Linked DNA regions of Homo sapiens: region 1 is linked to region 2. The links are contacts of gene promoters, found by promoter capture Hi-C in human tissues and cell types (Jung and others, 2019). All regions are on one chromosome and are shown on one strand. The core of a region is centred on a gene start or on the middle of the fragment in contact, and the rest is flanking DNA. Distances in the headings are between cores, read along the strand shown.

Evidence for each region. Contacts are between HindIII fragments. The study calls those that stand out against the background at their distance.
Region 1: a contact is called between a fragment that was not itself captured here and the fragment with the promoter of SLC7A5 in region 2, in 1 of the 25 tissues and cell types used here (H1 embryonic stem cells).

Annotation. Positions count from the first base shown.
Region 1 is chr16:87,619,932-87,624,249 of GRCh38, reverse strand. All of the region lies in intron 1 of JPH3 (junctophilin 3), which reads right to left. Among named protein-coding and RNA genes, the nearest start is that of JPH3, 20 kb to the right of the region's middle. RefSeq lists enhancers at 3,111-3,955, 3,956-4,318. The HindIII fragment of the contact is 4,846 bases long and covers 575-4,318 here.
Region 2 is chr16:87,867,939-87,872,199 of GRCh38, reverse strand. It overlaps SLC7A5 (solute carrier family 7 member 5), which reads left to right and starts at 2,693. Exons shown (of 10, transcript NM_003486.7): 1 at 2,693-3,315. The coding sequence starts at 2,778. RefSeq lists a cis regulatory region at 330-656, enhancers at 618-1,379, 736-1,935, 1,380-2,139 and a silencer at 2,380-2,729. The HindIII fragment of the contact is 6,482 bases long and covers 638-4,261 here.

The DNA of each region.
Region 1 (4,318 bases), core at 1,748-4,247, 250 kb after region 2:
TGAGAGTGACACAACTCTGAATATTCTAGAAACCACTGGACTGTACAGTTTAAATGGGTGAATTGTACGGTGTGTGAAACATATGTCAGCAAAGCTGTATTTTTTAAAAGCCAGACTTACTGGAGCCCTTTTTCTGCAATCAGGGAATGAGGGGGACCCTCCATTTGGGGAGTGACAGCGACAACCTGGCCTCTGGAGGCTGCCCCAGCCTCAGCCCTGGGGAGGGCCGCACAGTTACCCTGTCCCCTCCCAGCTGACAGGGACACACCTAGACTTCTGGGCAACGCCAAGGCCATGTTTAATGGCAACACCCTCCATTCCCATTATGGGGGCTCCATGGTGGCTCTCAAAGGAGGAGGATCTTCCAGAAAGCTTGCTCTGCGGCCTCGGGGGACCCCACAGCTGGGCATGTGGTCCCCAGGGAGGACCCCACAGTTTTCAAGCTTTGCCCCTAAACCTCCAAAGACACCCCAAAATCTGCCCAGAGGGTCCTTGTGGCCCATGCGTTGTGGGGGAGTGTTCGGGCCAGGACCAGTGCAGGACTCAGAGATGGGGCCTCAGATTTCAGGCACCACTTTGGCTCCGAAGGAGGAGAGTGAGGTGAGGGGGTCCGGAACTCGGGGTCTGCAGCTCCCAAGGGGTTCACAGAAGGAAATAGAGGTTGTTTTGTTGGGGAATGAAATTGCATCCTTATTTTCACTAAGCTTTACTTGAAATTTAACATTTCCTTAAACTAGAAGATGCCTCAAGCCCACAGTGGTACTGGCCACATCGGTGACTCTGTCACTCATGGAAACGGCATGTCCCCCACACAGCGGGAGCAAACATCCCAGGATAGGGTTACCCCAGGTCCTGCCCTGGCTGGGGAGCCCCCCATGAGCCTCACGCCCACCCTGCTGGACATCAGAGCAGCCAGCCAGGGAGGAATGAGCCAAGGACATCAGTGTCCACCCTCGCCTGCCCCTGCAGCCCTCTATGGATACTGGCTCCGAGTGTCAGCCAGGCCTTGGGGGAGGGATGCTCAAAGCAAGGAAGGTGCTGAGGTCCTTGCAGGACCACACAGCTCCCAGGAGACCAGGACGAGAGCTTGGCCCACGCTGGAACCCAGGCTGGCTGGGCAGTATCCGGGGTGGGCAGAGTGGACTCCTCCATTGAGGCCCCCACTGCTGCCTCAGAATCTGTGGGGCTGGCCTGGGAGGGGCCTGGACACTCCTGTGGCTCCCCTGCCCACAGCCGACCTCCACCAGGTCCCCCTCTGAACTTACCCCCCTGTGGGACCCAGGTAGTAGCGGCCATCGCAGAGAAGGCAAGTCCTCTGAGACCCTGGGACCCCAGGGCCCTCTCATACCCCCAATGCCTTGCCAGCCCTGGAAGGGTGACCAGAGGCTGAGTTGGGGCAGGGCACTGGCTACACCACCTCCCCAGCCCCCCAGCCCCAGCCCACGCTCCCCATCCACTCCAGGTTTAGAGCAGGACCAGGCCTCTCAGCGGCAGGGTGGGGCGGGGGGGGGTCTGATTTATCAGGAGGAGACCCTGACCATCTCTGGGGCTCCCCCAGACCCCATGCACCCTCAGCTCCTCCTGCAGGTCCCAGCCCTCAGTTCCTCATGGAACTTCTTCTGAGCCCGCCTCTGGCAGACTTCCATCCCAGCCACAGCCTCGCAGAAGGGAGAGCTCTCCTCCTACCCCAGCCACAGCCTCACAGAGGGGAGCTCTACTTCCCGGCCCTGCCACAGCTGCTGCTTCACAGGAAGGAGAGGCTGCCTGCACGCCCCTCTGCAGCCAAGGGCCACAGCACCTGGTAGTCACTGAGAAATGGGAACACAGCTGGAGACACCCTCCCACCGCCAAAGGTCAGCAGCACCCGTTCTCACTCCAGCCACTCTCTGTCCTTGCTCACGGAGGCTTGGGTGCCCCCTGGGAAGCTGACCTCAGACCCAAGCCCAGGAGGAGAGGAGGAAATGGCTGGGCTTTCTGGAAACTTCCCCTGAGCCATCACCCAAGAGTCCTGGAGACGCAGGGACGCACAGGACCAGCTGAGGCCTCGGAAGGCAGGCAGCTCTGGGGCAGACGGCGGCAGAGAGGTAGCTTGTGGGGTGGCATGCGGCTGGCTCTGAGGCATCCCCTCCACCCCAAAGGGGCCCCCCCCTGACACCTGGAGCTCCTGCCAGGCTGCGTCGTTCTTCTGTTGGATATAAACCATCTCCCAGAACACCCCAGTGACCCCAGACAAGGTCACTCTGAGATCACAGTAGAGTGAGATAGAAACAGGTCACTGTGCCACCCACGATCACCAACCATCCCCCCTCTCGACTAAGGGGAGGGGCGGCTGCTTCTTGACCCATCTCCGCATTATTTTGGTGCAGGTCTCCCATGTCTACAGGCGACAGTGACCAACGCACCCACAGGAGAATCGCCCCCTTTCCAACAGCACTTGGTCTAGTGAGCCCTACGTCCCTAGACTGTCCCCTCCCCACCACCCACCCAAACCCCAAACCCTAGTGGGGCTCTTCCCAACACCCTCTTGCCCCGTGGTTCCTGGGGGAGTGTCCACCCTCATTGCAGGGAGGAATAAACCCGGCCCTTCAACCGGAGCCTTCCGGGGGCTTGGCTGCCTGCATCCACCGTCTGAGACAGTCCCGGGTGTTTGCACAGCAATTGCTCCTGGCTGGCGGCTGTAGGTGGGTGTGTTTCTCTCAGAGGAGAATCACGAGGGGAAGCCCTGGGGCCTGGGGGGTTGGCCAACGCTCCTGAGAGCAAGAAGGCACTGGTGGGGATTCAGAAGCCCCCAGGCCCAGTCCTGTGGCCTTGGATTCACAGGGCTCAGAACCAGGCCCAGACCACCCTGAAGCCCCTTGCGCAGCCGCGGATCCCAGGTCTGGGCTGTTCCTGTCCCGAACCCCCTCCCCCGGACTCCGTCTATAGGATTTTGGAGTGGCCACCTCCTCCTGCCAGCAGCCCCTCCCGACACAGAGCAGATGGGGGCACTGGCCCTGGCACTCTGGGCCAAGTCGGGTCCAGCTGCCAGGGCGAGAAGTTAGCTGCTGACCCCTGCGCTCCAGGGGACCAGTTTCTTTTTCTTTTTCCTTTTGAGACAGAGTCTCGCTCTGTTGCCCAGGCTGGAGTGCAGTGGCACGATTTCGGCTCACTGCAACCTCCGCCTCCCGGGCTCAAGCAATTCTCCTGTCTCAGCCTCCTGAGTAGCTGGGACTACAGGCGCCCGCCACCATGCCTGGCTGATTTTTGTATTTTTTGGTAGAGATGGGGTTCCACCATGTTGGCCAAGCTGGTCTCAAACTCCTGACCTCAAGTGCTCAGGCCTCAGCCTCCCAAAGTGCTGGGATTATAGGCGCGAGCCACCGTACCCAGCCCAGGGGCCCAGTTTCTTTCGAATGCTCCTAACAGTTCCAAGAGACCTCTTCACAGGGCCAGACTGAGGCAGGCGGGCAGGGAGGCCCAGTGCCGCCCCAACAGCAGAACCGTGTGGCCTTGGGAAATTTGCCGCATCTCTGGCCTCAGTCTCCTCCTCCGGGCAGCAGGAGGACAGCGCCTCACAGGGCTGCTGTGTGGAATCCAAGGAAAGACGCAAAAAGAGCTGTGGTGTAAACGCAGGAAACAGCACCATCAAAACCTGGAAGGGAGGGGCGAGGAACAACGCACGTCCCCCCCATGGCAGGACTGACGTTCCCCCTCTGCAGCCCTTCCCCTCCCTCTCCTCACAGCCCACCCCTCTCCCTTTTCTCCTTCTTCCCCTCCCCCTCTCCCTCTCTTCTCTCCTTCTCTCCCTCTCTCTCCTTCTCTCTCTCTCTCCCTCCCCTCCCACCTCTCTGCTAACCACACCCCCATCCAGGCTCAAATGCTCCTTCCCTTTGCCCCCCGTCCCCGCTCTGGCCCGCTCTGGCCCATGACACCAGGACCCTGCCCCTATGGGTGACTCCTGGTCACTGTCGCTGCAGCCCCACCCCCCTGGCCTCTGCTGTACTCTTCCACACAGGAATGCACCATAAACTTGCTCACGATAGGTCTCTGCAGTGTGGACATAGCCACCCAGGCTCAGCCTGCGCTGGGATCCCAGTCCCCATTGCTGGCCTGAGGGACCCCAGAGCCCAGGTGACTCCCACACTTCTCCCTCCCACGCAGTACTGTGGGCTGGGACCTCTGTTTCCCAAGGGGTTTACCTCCGGCTCTTGTTTTTCTTAACAACTGGACTGGCTCTGGCACACCCAAGGGTGACGTGTGAGGGCCCTTGGGCTCCTTGCGCACTGGGTCCCAGGGTGGCCCTGTTCCTTCTGTCCCTGGTGCTCACAGATGCGCCTCC
Region 2 (4,261 bases), core at 1,444-3,943:
ATCCCAGCACTTTGGGAGGCTGAGGCGGGCGGATCACGAGATCAGGAGATTGGGACCATCCTGGCTAACCCCAATTCTACTAAAAATACAAAAAATAAAAAATTAGCCGAGCATGGTGGCGGGTGCCTGTAATCCCAGCTACTCCGGAGGCTGAGGCAGGAGAATTGCTTGAACCCGGGAGGCGGAGGTTGCAGTGAGTTGAGACTGTGCCACTGCACTCCAGCCTGGGTGACAGAGTGAGACTCCGTTTCAAAAAAAAAAAAAAGAAAAGAAAGTATTCTCCCAACCAGCTCAAGCGAGAGTGCCACAACTTTTTTTTCTTTTCTTTCTTTCTTTTTTTTAACCTCTGAAAATACACAACATGTGATAAATTACTGACTGGAGCTGAAAAGACCATTGTCCTGCCTCTGTAAAAATCAAAACGCTGCCGAATCTTTCCAACAGATGGCACTCTTTGCTAAGATTCTAGAGTCATAGCTTTCAGGCGAAGGCGTTTCAGGGCCGGCATCAGGGACGTCTGAGAGGAGTAGATTTGCTGGATAAATCTAGAATGTTGTCATATGAAAACCCAGTAAAAACCGACAGAGGTGGCGTAATAGCTGTGTGACTTGAACACGCTCATGGCTGTTGTCACCCTTCCTGCTTAAGGGCTCCAGCACTTGCCAGGAGCCTGGCTCTGGGGGCACCAACCATGACTTGCACCAACTGTGCAGGGCCCCCTCTGTGCCGGTGGGGACCCCTGCACCTCCCTTATTAATTCTCACTCACCCTGGGCTCTCAGCTCCAGGTACCACCTCAGAAAAGTCTATCTGGACCTGCCTGGTCCCTGTCGCTGTCGCTGGCTCACCCTGTCATGTCCTTGGCTTATCATGGTTGTAATTTTATGCTTTGGGGTATGACTGTTGGTTGCCTTTCTTGTTACTCAAAGAAGAATGGTGGAATGATTAAAAGTACCATATAAGTTCAGAGTCAAAAGGACAGCTCCCAGGCTACTTGCTGGCCGGACAAGCGAGGTAACCCTACCAAGCCTCAGCTTCCTTATTTGCAAAATGGCTCTAACTGGCACCTACCCTATTGCATAAGAAGCTGTCTAGGGGAGGACTCAGTGAGCACTCGGTGAGTTTGCCCAGCCATGGTGGTACTGTCTCCTTCCCTCTGCAGGCACAGCGGGAAGAATAGGGCAGATGGAGGGGTCTCTGCACCTTCCACAGCCAGCAATGTGGACGGCAGATTACAAGTTAGTATCTGTGTGACCTCCGCACTCCCCCGCCTGTGGCTGCCTGGGCTGCTGAGATTTCGCTCGGTTTTATCACCGCAGAGGAATGCCCGACATACCGGGGGGCGAGCAAGGTCCAGAATGACAAGCCCTGGCATTCCTCAGCCGCCCCCTCCCTGGGGTGGGGCCTGGACATTCCTGGCTGCAGCTAGAGGTCCCAGCACGACAGGGATTCTGACCCCCCTCCACCACGGCTATTGTTCAGAATTCTGTGGATTCCAGAGGCATCTGCCCAGCAGACTGTCTTGCTGTGAACACCCAGCTCTGCAACCGGTGTTTGCGTGTTTGCCCTGGGAGGCTGAACGCTCACCCAGAACAAAGGCCTCCCCACATGCCTGCTGTGAGCTTCCAAGGACTCGTTTGCACACACGCCAAGGAACCCCGGGGTGGGGTGATACTGAGGAGCTTCCTCCCTGACCCACACACACCCTTTGAACAGGTCTTTGGCCGCTCACCAGTCTGGTCAATCTCGGGGCAGTATTTATATTCCTTCCCATTTCCAGGCCTAGGAGCCTTGGCATCCTGCTCTCGCCTCTAACTGAAATTACCTCTCAACCCTTTTTAGCTAAGATGCCTCTCGCATTCCCTAGGAATAACAAGCTTTAAAGCCCCTTCACACTGAAGCCTGCCTTTGAATTCCCCAGGTAGATTTGGGGGTGGGGGTCTTATGGCTCCCAGCGAACCCCCGGTTCTGTTGATTAAATTGAGCTCAGGCAGATTGCTGGCTTCCCAAAGCCTGTGTTATTACTGCTTCTCAAAGCTACGGGCACCGGATCGCCGTCTTTGGCAAGATTCTTTTGGGATACAATGGGAATTACTGGGTGGCCTCGGTTCGGTTCTTCCCTCGTCCCAGTTCGCGGCTCACCAGCCCCACTGATGCAGCCCCCAGGCTGGAAGGAGGCTGCAGGAGCTTCCCCTCAGGTCATCCTCTCATCCCTCCCCCGTGCCCCAGGAGCTGGTTGTGGGGGCGGTTCCATCCCCTCGGCCCATCCGGGACAGGAGCCTAGGTTCCCTTCGGGGGGTACCCCAAACTCCATCCTTGGCCTCAGGCCAGCCCTGGTGCACTGCCCGCTCCCAGGCTTGACGAGAGGCTGCGGGCCAGTGGGTGAAGGGGCGCGCCCTGACTGCCAGGCCCCGCCCAGGCGCATCCGGGAGGACGGGCTGGGATGACGCGGGCGCCGGGAGGGGGGAGGTCGCGAGGCCGGGGTCTCCATGGCGCAGGAGGACTGGGGCCTTCGAGGACCACGCGGGCCTGGGAATAGCCCGCCAGGCTGGGCCGGACGACGCACGTGCTCCGAGCTGGGCCGAGGGGGCGGGGCTGAGGGACGGGGCCGGGCCACGGGGCGGGGAGGAGCCGCGGACGGTGGGCGGGGCCGGCGGGCCGGGGCCTAAAAGGCGGCGCGGGCGGGGTTCCTGACGCAGCTGCGGGCGGCGGGCGGCGCGCACACTGCTCGCTGGGCCGCGGCTCCCGGGTGTCCCAGGCCCGGCCGGTGCGCAGAGCATGGCGGGTGCGGGCCCGAAGCGGCGCGCGCTAGCGGCGCCGGCGGCCGAGGAGAAGGAAGAGGCGCGGGAGAAGATGCTGGCCGCCAAGAGCGCGGACGGCTCGGCGCCGGCAGGCGAGGGCGAGGGCGTGACCCTGCAGCGGAACATCACGCTGCTCAACGGCGTGGCCATCATCGTGGGGACCATTATCGGCTCGGGCATCTTCGTGACGCCCACGGGCGTGCTCAAGGAGGCAGGCTCGCCGGGGCTGGCGCTGGTGGTGTGGGCCGCGTGCGGCGTCTTCTCCATCGTGGGCGCGCTCTGCTACGCGGAGCTCGGCACCACCATCTCCAAATCGGGCGGCGACTACGCCTACATGCTGGAGGTCTACGGCTCGCTGCCCGCCTTCCTCAAGCTCTGGATCGAGCTGCTCATCATCCGGCCTTCATCGCAGTACATCGTGGCCCTGGTCTTCGCCACCTACCTGCTCAAGCCGCTCTTCCCCACCTGCCCGGTGCCCGAGGAGGCAGCCAAGCTCGTGGCCTGCCTCTGCGTGCGTGAGTACGGGGCGCGGGCCGGGGGTTGGGAGGTCGTAGTCTCTGGGTCCCTGCATCCTTGCATCACTACGCCCCTGGCTCCCACATCTCTACATCTTTACGTTCCTGGACCATCCCGGCAGTTCTAGGCTAAGGTCATTGGTCCCAGAAACCACGTGCGTTTCTTTCATTCATTCTTTTACACTTCTCCCCACAGGCTGGGAATATCTTCAGTGACGGGACAGCAGGGTCCCTGCCCTGCCCTTCGGTGGGCATTCCATTCCCCCACTTAAGCGGTTTAGGCAAGTGCCACCCTCCCGTTGGCCCCGCTGAGCAATACTCCCAGCCTCTTGCGTGGCACCCACGTGGAGTAACTGAGCAATCGGTTTACTGTTAGAGCTCCGATTGCTGACTGGTTGGTGAGAAGGAAATTGCAGTTAAAAAAAAAATCATTCATTTCTGCTCTCCACACCAGCTCGTCAGGAATCAGTGACACGGGCTGACTCATAAGAAAACAGTAGTAATAACATCGTGTGCGGGTAGTGACTGGTGCTGATTTAGGCTAAGGGATCCCCCCTGAGGGTTCCCAGTAGTGAGAGAGCGGAGCTTGGCTGCAGATTCAGTCTGTGTTGCAGTGAATGGACGTGCGGGTCCCAGGTTTCTCTGGGAAACAGCCATGGGGCTCCTGTTTTGGTGGGCATGGTGCTGGTGTGTTCTTCACCAGGCCAGAGATAACTGCTTTTCAAAATAGTTTTCTTTTTCTTTTTCTTTCTTTTTTTTTTTTTTTTTTGACACTGAGTCCCGCTCAGTCGCCCAGGCTGGAGTACAGTGGCACGATCTCGGCTCACCGCAAGCCCGCCTCCCAGGTTCATGCCATTCTCCTGGCTCAGCCTCCCGAGTAGCTGGGACTACAGGTGCCCGCCACTACGCCCGGGTAATTTTTTTTGTATTTTTAGTAGAGACGGCG